Linked DNA regions of Homo sapiens: region 2 is linked to region 1. Evidence: promoter capture Hi-C in 16 types of primary human blood cells and fetal thymus (Javierre and others, 2016). All regions are on one chromosome and are shown on one strand. The core of a region is centred on a gene start or on the middle of the fragment in contact, and the rest is flanking DNA. Distances in the headings are between cores, read along the strand shown. Region 1 holds the start of RSPRY1 (ring finger and SPRY domain containing 1). Region 2 overlaps CCL17 (C-C motif chemokine ligand 17).

Region 1 (6,059 bases), core at 2,213-4,712:
GGCGTAACCCTGTCTTAAAAAAAGTGCAAAAATTGGCCAGGTGTGGTGGCTCGCACCTGTAGTCCCAGTTACTTGGGAGGCTGATGTGGGAGGATCACCTGAGCCTGGGAGGTAGAGGCTTCTGTGAGCCGTGATTGCACCACTGCACTCTAGCCTGAGAGACAGCATGAGACCCTGTCTCAAAAAAAAAAAAAAAAGAAAAGAAAAGAAAAAGAAAAAACAGAAAAAAAGAAATACAGAATAATTGTTTGTTAAACTCTTGACAAAACACACTTTTTTTTTTTTTAGCCTCCAGGCCCCACAGTGCTACATAACTCAGATTTGTTGTTTTTACCTGATTCACTACAGATTAACACACTATTATACAAAATGCTAAGTTTTTATTTCCCTTTGATACTTACTAAATGAAAAGTTATTTTGCTGACAAAAGCAGAAGCCCACATAGAGTATGCTGGTATACCTCCTATAATCAATAACTTGAAAATAATCACTGAGGGCCAGGCACAGTAGCTCATGCCTGTAATCCCAGCACTTTGGGAGGCCAAGGTGGGCAGATCACTTTGAGCTCAGGAGTTCAAGACCAGCCTGACCAACACGGTGAAACTCCCTCTCTACTAAAAATACAAAAATTAGCCAGGCACGGGTGGTGCTTGCCTGTAATCCCAGTTACTTGGGAGGCTGAGGCAGAAGAATTGCTTGAACCCGGGAGGCAGAGGTTGCAGTGAGCTGAGATCGCGCCATTGCACTCCAGCCTGAGGAACAAGAGGGAATCTCGGTCTCAAAAAAAAAAAAAAAAAAAAGTCACTGAGTACAGAAAAAAGCATAACATAGAAAGACATTAAATAGTAGGTTAGGGCAACATGCATCCTGGGAGATCAAATAACTCACAATCACCAGTTATAGTTTTTAAAAAGATCCACAGAATATAGGATCACAAAAACAGAAAATTCAGAGCAGTACAAAAATTACTTCGAAAGGCAGACACAGTGGCTCACGCCTGTAATCCCGGCACTTTGGGAGGCCGAGGCAGGCGGATTACAGGACGTCGGGAGTTCGACACCAGCCTGACCAACACGGAGAAACCTCGTCTCTACTAAAAATACAAAATTAGCTGGGCGTGGTGGTACATGCCTGTAATCCCAGCTACTCCGGAGGCTGAGGCAGGAGAATCGCTTGAACCCAGGAGGCGGAGGTTGCAGTGAGCCGAGATAGCGCCACTGCACTCCAGCCTGGGCAACAAGAACGAAACTCCGTCTCAAAAAACAAACAAACAAAAAAACCAAAAACACAACTAAATTACTTCGGAAAAAATCCCATATAAATTGCCCGATATTTGGAAAACCATCTCTAACAAGTACGACGAACCAAACACTAGTAAAATGTCATACAGGGACACAAGTCTCTTACAATCTCATAGAGGGATCTACAAAGCAAGATACCATCCCAGGAAATGATTGCCCGATATTTGGAAAACCATCTCTAACAAGTACGACGAACCAAACACTAGTAAAATGTCATACAGGGACACAAGTCTCTTACAATCTCATAGAGGGATCTACAAAGCAAGATACCATCCCAGGAAATGCAAAGTCCACATAAGGGGAAAAATAAAGAGAACCACTGTGCAAGAGAAATTTAAAAGCAACTTCCAACATGCCTCATAATCTATAGTCTAGGGCTACCACAACAACGCATAGTATTCGTGGAGGAAAAAAGGCAGTCTTTACAAATCACAACTGAGGGAGAAAGTATGATATTCACTGCCTGTAGACATCCAAAAGCCATGCATATATATATGCAAAAGGGGGAGGAGGTTTACAATGTTGAGATCAAATTACTTAGAGGAAAATTTCAGCTGTTAGGGGAAAATAATTCCTGAAGGAAAAGATATTACAGTGGTAACTCCTGCCAGCACCATAAGAAGTTCAAAGTAAATGAAAACTCTGAGAGCAAAAGCTGGAAATCCCACCATCCCCATCTAAGCAGGGTTTGAAACCATGGGTTTAGATCTTAATATGACCTAAGAAGCTGTGAACCTTGAAGCTTTCAGTACAATATGGCTCCCAGCACTCCGCAGGTGACAGACAACGACTGTATTAATCCCACCCCTTACCTCTACATACTACTTTACATTTTAGAAAGTGCCTTCACTTTTATTCCTCAACAGCAACCCGTTTGGTGGTAGAATCACACTAACTTACGTTCACGCAGCTTGTAATTTGTACTTTCACATACTGCGCTGGTTATTTTACAGTAGAGACTTAAGGAGGTTAAGTCACTCCACTAAGCAAGAACAGATGGTAGGTAAAGGGCCTGGAAAACTGCGGGATTCTACTCAGTCGATAACAGACACTTCTAACCCTTCAAAGTTCAAAGTACAACACTCCAGGGGGAGCAACCTCTCTCAGAGAACTATACAAGACAGGACCTCGGAGTCTCAGCCGACCGCCTCGGTCTCAGTCGGTTTCCCTCCCCAAAGACGGGGAAAGTGAGGCAGCAGGAGAGACAAATGCCTAATTTGGACTCACGCAAGGGGTGTTGGTGGGATAGACTCTCCCCACCCCACTCGGGCAATAAGCCCGGAAGCAGTTGGATCCTGTGTCTGGGACACCTGGTCGATCTACAGAGAGAGGGAATAATTCCCGTTTCCCTTTCACTACTCCCCACTCTGGCTTTCCTGTGGATGGAGGTGTCTTCTTCCCATCACCGCCCAGAAATCCCCTCTCCCCAAGGTCCTTACCCAATTTTCAGCTCCGGCTTCCGTAGTAGGACATTCCGCTAGTTCTAGCTCCTGCTTCCTAGCCCCATTCTCTCTCTATCCCAAGGCGTTTCTAAATCTCCCCGGGGAGGTATGCCTCATCCGTGCCACCTAGACCGTAAACTCCACAAAAAGAACCCTCCTAAAGCGTCCCTTCATCTACCCTTTCTATCCCGGGCACCCCTGAGTAGGTCAGGACCCCATCGGTACCAGGAGCCACCCCAGGAGATAGATAGCTGCCTCTCACCTGGGCCCTGTTAGCCGCAGCCTCCTCAGAAGGGCGACCCCCAAGAACCTCTTCTGGTGAGGACCCCCGAAAGAGGGAACACCCTCTTCTAGGAACCTCTTCAGATCCCTCAAGCGCGGGCCTCGGTGGAAAACCTCTCGGCTGTTTCTCAGGTTCTGACCAACGCCACCTCTCTCCCGGGCCCTTTCCAGAGCCTACCCCGGCCCCAGTCCGGTCCGCCCGCCCCAGGCTCGAGCGGCTGTTCCCCTCCCTCACAGACGTCCCCAACCCTCAGACTCCCTCCCGTTCCGCGTGCCCAGGGCTCAGAGCAGCGCGGTCGGGCTGTGGCACTGACTTTCTCTACCTCCCGGGCCCACCGGAGGGAGGGGGCGGCGGCGGCGGCGCGACTCCTTTGTGACAGGTCCGAGAGAACGGCAAAGATGGACGCGAGGCCACGGCGCTGCCATTACGCGCAGAGCCCACCCCCGCTTCGTACCGCCCCAGCCCTCCCTCAGTCCCCTAGGAAACGCCCCTTCCTCGGTGGCAAGCCCTCTCCTTGACAGCCAATCACCTTTCAAAAATCGTGTCACGTGATCAGCGGGACCGGCCCGCCCTCCAGGCGCAGACTGGCCAGTCCTCATCCTGAGGCGTGAATGGCCCAATCAAGTCTCTCCGGCTCGTTTTCAGGGTACCGGATTTCCATCGGGCTCCCGGGGAGGAAGAGCTCCGCGGATTGGGTTACGTCGCCGGAAGTGGGGCGGGACTCTATTGTGGCGGTGAGGAACAGGAAGCCCTGAAGGGTCAAAAGAAATACAAAAGCAAAGGCTATTTTCTTTTTTTTTTTCTTTCTTTCATTCATTCCTTCCTCTGTTTCTTTCTTTCTTCCTTTCATTTTTTTTTCTTTTTTAAGAGCGAGCGGCTCTGCGGTGGCGGTTTGGGGTGGGCGCCGCCGAGGTGAGGTCGTCTCGCCTCCCGCGCGCCGGTAGGTGAGTGCGGCCTCGGTCCTGGCCTGGCGGCGACACCTGGGTTCCAGCTTCCTTACGGAAGAGATGAGCTGCGGCTGCTGTTAGGGTTAGGGCCAGGCCTGTTCTCAGTCCGCGCACCCGCTCCTTGTCCGGAGTAGCCGAAGCCTGGGGCTTGCGGGCCCAGCCTGAGGGGAGCTGAGGGTGCCCGCGGGAAGGCATCTGGGTCGCGGCGAGGACCCTTTCAGGCGGGCCCAACACTGCCGGGCGTTTAATGGGGTTTCCCCAATTTTCTGCTAGGTAGGGCCACCCAGGTTTCAAGTGAGTAGCAGGCTCCGTTCCAGAGGTCTTGGAACAGGTCCAGGTTACTCACTCGGATGTGCGGCGTCTGGTTGGAAATGGTTGAATCCCAGAATGGCAGTGCAGGATGGGAAGCACATTTATTGTGTGCCATGTACCAGTTGCTGTGCCAAGCGAATTTTCTATTACGGAAAACAAGCCAGCTGGCCCGTTTTGCAGAAAACTTAAGAAACAAAGAGAGTTGAAGCGTCATGCTTGAGAGTTGGTGGTCCTTGTGACTGTCAGTCCACACAGAGGAAAGGGGGAGACCTGTTTGTTCGTAGTCGTGGTTCTTTAATGTTAGTGGAAAACAAGATCTCCTGGGGCCCTTTTAAAATGCAGTTTCTCAGACTCCCGCACGCTCGGGTAGCCCGACTGGTTAGTTCAGGAGTGGGACCCAAGAAGCCAGATGCGAGCCTGGTGATCGGAATTCCCGATGACCTCTTGCCTACCACCTGTGACATAAGATTTGTCGATTCATCAGTTATTTGGTGTATTCATGTGTCCACAGGGACACCATAAAATGGAAGGCACCCTTCTGAAATATTTGAAGGGAATCAGTGGGTAGACTCCTTTTTGATACAAAGTATTGAGCCGACAGCAGCTTTTACAGTCTTTTAGTTAGATGACCTGCGAACAATTTGTAAGGATCTGAAAGTAGAGGCTGCCCGATTATCTTTCTCAACTGAAGTCTTCATGTCCTTACCCTGTGGGGAAGTGCTTCATGATATAAGAAAGGAATAATTGTGTCAAAACCATTTAGTTGATTATCAGTCTTCACTTTCATCTTCCAAGAATGGTGATGCTTGGTTAGAATCAAGCTGCTGCTTTAGCTATTGAAAACCACGTATGTGGTAAATCAAGTAACAAGTGCGATGTACGTACAGGGTCAGTCATAGTGTAATTATGCCTTTATGGCAGCTAAATTAAGCATTTTCAACGTGTTCACCATTAGTCACCTTTTGAACATACTTTGTCTTCATTCTTAAATATTATGTTTCACTCTTTACTATAGAATATGTTGTTAAGATTGTTTTGTCTAAAATCAAGTATCGACAAGTTTAAAAAAAAGATTGTTTTGTGTTTGGTTTTCTGTATTTCCACTATGCTCTATGGAACTATGGGTTTGTTTTTGTTCAATTTGTTTGGTATTTATTAGACTTCTTGAATCTGTGGATTAGTGTCTTTCATTAATTCTGTAAAATTCTCAGCCATTTTATATGCATATATTGCTTCTTCCCATTGTTTCTCTTTTTTTTTTTATCGATTTAACTAAACCTTTTCACTCTTTTCTCTATGTCTTTTACTCTGTTCTTTCGTAGTACATTCTGGATAATTTATTCTCAAGTTATTTCCATTGTTATTAAACTCGGCCTCTGAAATCTTAAATCATATATTGCAATTTTTAGTTTCTGAAGTTCTGTTTGGTTTGTGACACTTTTACAGTTTTTTATTTCTTACTATTTTGAGGCTTAATTTTATTTCTTTAAACATGGAAAGTATAGTTGTTTTTATAATCTCTATGTTTAATTCCACTGTCTGAATTCCCTTTGGGGGAGTCTGTTTCTGTTGTCCATTATTCCTGCTGTTTTACTTCCCAGTTCACCTTTACTTTGAAGCTGTAGTTCTTTTGGGCACAAGATTAAGATGGAGAGGGAGGTAGTTGTCAGACTCCACTCCCTGGATGGGCTCCTGGCTTGAACTTGTTTCTGTTATCTCATAAAGGCACTGAAACTTTAGCTTTTAGGTCAGAGAAGTCCTCAGGATGAAATCC
Region 2 (6,059 bases), core at 1,870-4,369, 230 kb before region 1:
ACTGCAGCCTTGACCTGCTGTGCTCAAGTGATCCTCCCACCTCAGCCTCCTGAGTAGCTGGCAGCACAGGCGCATGCTACCATGCCTGGCTAATTTGTGCATTTCGTAAAGACTGAGTCTCACTATGTTGCCCAGACTGGTCTCAGACTCCTGGGCTCAAGTGATCCTCCCACCTTGGCCTCCCAGAGTGCTGGGATTACAGGTGTGAGCCACTATGCCCAGCCTATTGTATATTTCAAAATAGCTAGAAGAGAAGATTTGAAACGTTCCCAACACAGTGAAATGATAAATGTTCGAGGTGATGGATATCCTGATTACCTTGATCTGATCACTATGCATTGTATGCTTGTGTCACAGTATCATATGTATCCCATAAATATGTACAATTACTATGCATCAATTTAAAAAATTTAAAATGTACCCCCAGGATTTGAATTGATGGAGGTGACTGAGTGACAACACAGAGCGACCAAGGACACTGAAAGAATTCATCACTTGCATCTCCCAGGAGAACAGGGCATGGCACACACGCAGGACCACACACGGGGCCACAGGGGGAGCACCAAGTTTGGTCAGGAGGCTGAAAGGAAGGATCAGAACAGCACAGGCCACAGCCTTTTGTGGGGTTTCCACCCGAAGTGCAAGGCAGGCCAGGGGAAGCAGCCCGGGTCTGGCTAGTTGGAATAATTCCAGGGGGCCTTGGGCTTAGGGGCCGTCCCTAGTTGTCTCTACCTGGCTCTGGGTGATTTAGGGCAGGGGAAATACTGGCTTGGTGTGAGAGTTAAATAGAGATGGTTGGGGGGCCTGTGATTGGGATTGGTTGGAGGGTTTGTAACTATTATTACTTTCAAACACTTGCAAAAACCAGCTTGCAGGGGAGGTATAAATGCTTTTGGCCCTGTGATTTGGCCCTGTGATAAATGGATGCCAAATAGACCAAATACAGTCTCTAAGAAAACACAGTGAAACACCCCAGCCCACAGCTCTTGGCACTGCCCAGGTTGCGTCTGGAGTTAGTGGCCCTGCTAGTCCCAGCAGGGTTTCTTCCTTCTTCCTCTTCATCCAGCAAACCCCAGACAGTGTAATTGGCGGTTTCTTTGCTTCTGTTCCCACAAGAGGAGAGCCGGCCAGCTACAGACACCCCTGCCCCAAGGCCTAGTGCAGCTACAACCAGATGTGGCTGATCCCAGCCCCTGGGGACAGCGATGGGGCCGGAGTCTGGCTGGTGGGGTCAGGGCCCCTGGCGCATCAGCCTCAGAACTTCCTCCTAAGAGCAGAGTGCCCTCTGGTGGGCCACTGGAAAACAACCCAATTCTAATTTCCACGTTTGGAGATGCAATATGCTTCAAGCCGGGTTATTAGGGCTCCCCAGGAAATTTCTCTTTCCCCACTAGTGCCCCTTGTGGAATTCACCTGAGCAGCACTGATGAAAATGTATAAATCAAATATACACTGTGCACAAAGCTTTTTTCCCTCCTCATAAATGAGTCTGGTACTGTTTCCTGACCCAAATACCTGCTCAGTGAGTTTATTGGGTAAATCACCCAAGCAGCTCCAATTACAAGGGGTAGAGTGTGGTCAGGATTAGACTAAGGTGAGCGTTGGGTGCAGGTGGAGGACACACAGCTGAGGTTGAGTAGGCTGGCTGTGGCAGAGGCAGCACTGAGTTGAGCGTTGAAGAGAAACTGGATTTCAGAATAGTGGCTCACGCCTGTAATCCCAGCACTTTGGGAGGCCGAGGTGGGCGGATCACTTGAGCTCGGGAGTTCGAGACCAGCCTGGCCAACATGGTAAAACCCCATCTCTTCTAAAAATACAAAAATCAGCCAGGTGTGGTGGTGCACACCTATAATCCCAGCTACTCAGGAAGCTGAGGCATGAGAATCGCTTGAACCCGGGAGACAGAGGTTGCAGTGAGCCAGATCGCACCACTGCACTCCAGCCTGGGTCACAGAGCCAGACTCCATCTGAAAAAAAAAAAAAAAAAAAAAAAAAAAAAAAGCAGGGGTGGGGTGGGGGAGGAGGGGAGGCACCTACCAGGTGAAAGAAACAACATAAGTCTGGCGCTTCTCCTCACTTTTCACCCCGAACCTGCCCATTCCTCTTTTTCCCTCCCAGCAGTCTTTCCAATCACAGCAGTCTCCAGGTCACACCTCCTTAAAATGCCCTAAGGTCACATGGCAGTTGTCCTATCTCTTGCATCTCACCATCCCCCAGCTTGCACCGGATGCTGCTCGTGAATACTTGGATTCTGAATCCTGCGTTTTGTTGCCAGTCCTGGATCCACCTCTTCCCTGCCTTTATGCAATGCCCCACCCTATCTCACTTTCAGGGACCCTCTGGCAACTCCCCACCTCCTCACAGGCCTCCACGGCAGCTCTACTTACCTAAGCTTACAATATGGGCTTCTGAGTAGGATTTCAGTAGGGAAAAAACAAAAAAGGTCTTGCTTTTTTAAACGAAGTTTGCTGGAGGCCAGGCGCGGTGGCTCATGCCTGTAATCTCAGCACTTTGGGAGGCCAAGGCGAGTGGATCACATAAGGCCAAGAGTTCAAGACCAGCCTGACCGACATGGTGAAACCCCGTCTCTACTAAAAATACAAAAAAATTAGCCGGGTGTGGTGGCGGGCGCCTGTAATCCCAGCTACTTAGGAGGCTGAAGCAGGAGAATCGCTTGAACCTGGGAGGCGGAGGTTGCAGTGAGCTGAGATGGAGCCATTGCACTCTGAGAGTCCTTCCAGCTCTCGCCTGCAGGGTGCAGGGGTCCAGACCCCGGCTGTCTCTGGCCTTTGCTGTCTTAGGAGCTTCTCCTTGCCTCCCTCCCTTTTTAGATCATCCTTCCTCCTCCCGGTGGATTCAGAGGACAATTTTCCATGAAGAACTCAGACTGGGCCATCCCCAGGACTCTGGGTCTTAGGCAGTTGTTCAAGTGATCCTCCTCGGCATCAGGACAGGAGATGAGCCCACTTGCGGCTGAAGAGACCCTAGAGTCACAGGCAAGCCAGTTCACTGGTTTTATCAACCTCGTTATCGCTGTGCCCGTACTGGAAAGTAAACTTGGGTTCTATCATCTGCCCTGCAATGAGCTGACTGGCCACAAGGGAGCAGCAGGAGGCAACAGCCGGGCCTGGAAATTGCCCTTCTAACCGCAGCCCCACCAAACAATGCCCGCCACAAGGTCCTCGGAAGAGAAGGACCCGCGCCCCTGCCGCCAAACTGTGTTCAGAGAGAAGCCACGGCCCCATCGCTGGTTGGGAGAGTGAGAGAGAACTAGAAGGCTTAGGCCCCGACTCCTCTGTGCTCAGCCCTTAGCTGGGCATGGGCAGAGGGGTCTGGGGGTGGGGTGTCCTGAGCCTCTAGTCCCCATCTTTTTTAGCACAGGGGTGTGGGGTCCCCGGAGTGGCTCACGGAGCTCTCAACCTAATGGAGGAGCTGGGACTGCCACACACGCGCACGCACACACACACACACACACACACACACACACACACAATGAGAGAACCACGCGGAGCAGGGGTCGGCTTCAGGGCAGTCCCTAAGAGCTGGGGGAGCGAGTCGGTGGGCGGTTGTGCTGGGCCGGCTTCCGGCAGGCTGGGCGCAGCCAGGGCCGGGTGGGGATCACACTTCAGTCAGGAGGAACCACAGGGCCGCGTGGCGCCCGCCTGCCTGAGCCTGGAGTGGGCTAGGAAGTCAGCCGCAGGCAGAGGGCCCAGGACCCACAGAGCCCCCTCGCCCTGGAGCTGGGGTCTGGAGTTTGAGCGGGGAGAGGGAGCCAGGGCCAGGAGGAGCCGGGCCAGCTGGACTGCAGTGAGTGCAGGGGAAGGCAAGGACAGGGCTACAAGCTTCCCCCACCCTTGGCCAGGGGGCTCCCCAGCACTGGGCAGAGCTGTGGCCTGCGGCAGGGTCCTGGCCAGTCTGTGAAATTGACTCCAGCACCTCGGGGAAGTTTGTCCTCAGCTCCACGTGGGGCAAGAACAGGAGCTGGGCTGGGGGGAAACCGGGAGACCTTGGGGTGGGTAGGGAGAGAATCCAGCGGCCGCCTCCCAGGACCCCGCCAACCCCGCCCCTGCCCGGGCCTCTCACCAGGGCCTCCCCTCACTGGTGCGTGGTCTGCGGAAGCCACGTGCCCTTCTCAGCCTCAGTTTCCCTTTCCGACCTGCACAGGGCAGGACCAGAGGTTCTCTGAGAACCCTCCCAGAGTGACAGGCCGGAGTGGAAGCGCATCTTGCGCTGTGGGGACAGACACGCTGACACAGACTGAGGATAAAGACTTTAATCTGGGCCCTTTGTGCCCATGGCTCCAGTTCAGACAAGGGGATGGGATCTCCCTCACTGTGGCTCTTCTTCGTCCCTGGAAGGCCTCCCCTGGACCCAGGCGCTCAGGGTGGGGGCGGTGAACACCAACGGTGGAGGTCCCAGGTAGTCCCGGGAGACAGTCAGGAGTCTGGGGTGAGGAGGCTTCAAGACCTCTCAAGGCTTTGCAGGTATTTAACTGCATTCTTCACTCTCTTGTTGTTGGGGTCCGAACAGATGGCCCTGCCCTGCACAGTTACAAAACTACACAGAAGGAGGACGTTACCAGGAGTGGCAGGGGGGGAAGGGCCCCCAGAGTCCCTGGGACGGCCCGCCCTGTGCTGACCAGGATTCCAAGGCTCCAAGAGGGGCAGGAAGTTGCTGCTGTCACACAGGGCATTGGTGGCAGATCTGGGACTTCAGGCTCTGTCCCGAGTAATCTCGACCCTCCCAGGGAGCCAGGGCTGCAGGAACTTGTGCCCACCCCTCAGCCTGCCCATGCCCCCAGACAGTCTAGAGCCTGGGACGTGGAGACTGCGGGCAGGGCTCAGGCCCAGGCTGGGGGAGGTGACCACATTGCCCCTGACCAGCTGTGTGACCTGGGGGTGTTCATTGCTCCCGGGGCCTCAATTTCACCACAAATCAAGGAATAGGTTGGACCTCATGGCCTGCGGCCCTTTTGGGTCCCACAGTGTGGGGAGCCTGCAGGGGTTGGGGAGGAAGGCCCCGCTGTCTCTTCCCTGCTCCCCATTGGCCGTCCTGGGAGCTCCAGGGTGCACTTGTCCCCATGCTTGGCCCTGAGGAGCAGGGGTGGAGCCAGGGGGACTTACACGATGGCATCCCTGGAGCAGTCCTCAGATGTCTGGTACCACGTCTTCAGCTTTCTAAGGGGAATGGCTCCCTTGAAGTACTCCAGGCAGCACTCCCGGCCCACATTGGTCCCTCGAGCTGCAGGGAGAGGAGCGGGGCAGGGGTGTCTGTGAGTGTCTGCGTGTGTGTTGCGGGGACCTCTGGGGGGTGTTCGTGGAAGATCTGCATGTGCGTGTCCATGTGTGCATCTGTGTGTGATGACTGCATGTGTATCACTGCCTATGTGTATGTGTGTGTGTCTGTGTGTTACCATACACAGGTGTGTGTGAGGCTTCTGTGTATGTTGTGGGGTCCCGTGTGTTTGTGGGTGTGCATGTTTTGTGTGTCTGTGGGGGATTCTGTGTGTCCTGTGAGTGCCTACGTGTGTGTCTCTGTGCATCTGTGCGCGTCCCTGTATGTCTATACCTGGCAACCTTATTTCATTTTTCCTTTCCCAACCTAATATAAGAATCTCTTTTTTCAGTCTGGGCGCCGTGGCTCATGCCTGTAATCCCAGCACTTTGGGAGGCCAAGGCGGGTGGATGGCCTGAGGTCAGGAGTTCGAGACCAGCCTGACCAACATGGTGAAAACCCATTGGTGGCGTGGTGGCCGGGCACCTATATTCCCAGCTACTCGGGAGGCTGAGGCAGGAGAATCGCTTGAATCCGGGAGGCAGAGGTTGCAGTGAGCCAAGATCACACCATTGCACTCCAGCCTGGGCGACAGCGCAAGACTCCATCTCAAAAAAAAAAAAAAAAAAAAAAAAAAGAATCCTTTTTTACATGCTCTTGGAAACAATTCTCCTATCTTTATGCTGATTCCCTCATTGTGCATAAAACCTGTTAATAAAACAGAAGCTAATAAATAATTTTGAGAATTGTTCATTTTCCATTGCACAACTACAGCCACAGCCCCC

Evidence for each region. Contacts are between HindIII fragments. The CHiCAGO score rates a contact against its expected background, and 5 or more counts as called.
Region 2: a contact is called between a fragment that was not itself captured here and the fragment with the promoter of RSPRY1 in region 1, in 1 of 17 cell types (endothelial precursors). The highest score is 5.9, in endothelial precursors.

Annotation. Positions count from the first base shown.
Region 1 is chr16:57,183,732-57,189,790 of GRCh38, reverse strand. It overlaps RSPRY1 (ring finger and SPRY domain containing 1), which reads right to left and starts at 3,462. Exons shown (of 15, transcript NM_133368.3): 1 at 3,340-3,462. PSME3IP1 (proteasome activator subunit 3 interacting protein 1) reads left to right here and starts at 3,752. Exons shown (of 7, transcript NM_024946.4): 1 at 3,752-3,970. RefSeq lists enhancers at 2,122-2,766, 4,078-4,127 and a silencer at 3,168-3,377. The HindIII fragment of the contact is 4,622 bases long and covers 2,046-6,059 here.
Region 2 is chr16:57,414,263-57,420,321 of GRCh38, reverse strand. CCL17 (C-C motif chemokine ligand 17) reads right to left here. Exons shown (of 4, transcript NM_002987.3): 3 at 5,124-5,241; 4 at 4,259-4,557. The coding sequence ends at 4,461. Among named protein-coding and RNA genes, the nearest start is that of CCL17, 13 kb to the right of the region's middle. RefSeq lists enhancers at 2,143-2,657, 3,174-3,689, 3,690-4,205. The HindIII fragment of the contact is 1,450 bases long and covers 2,395-3,844 here.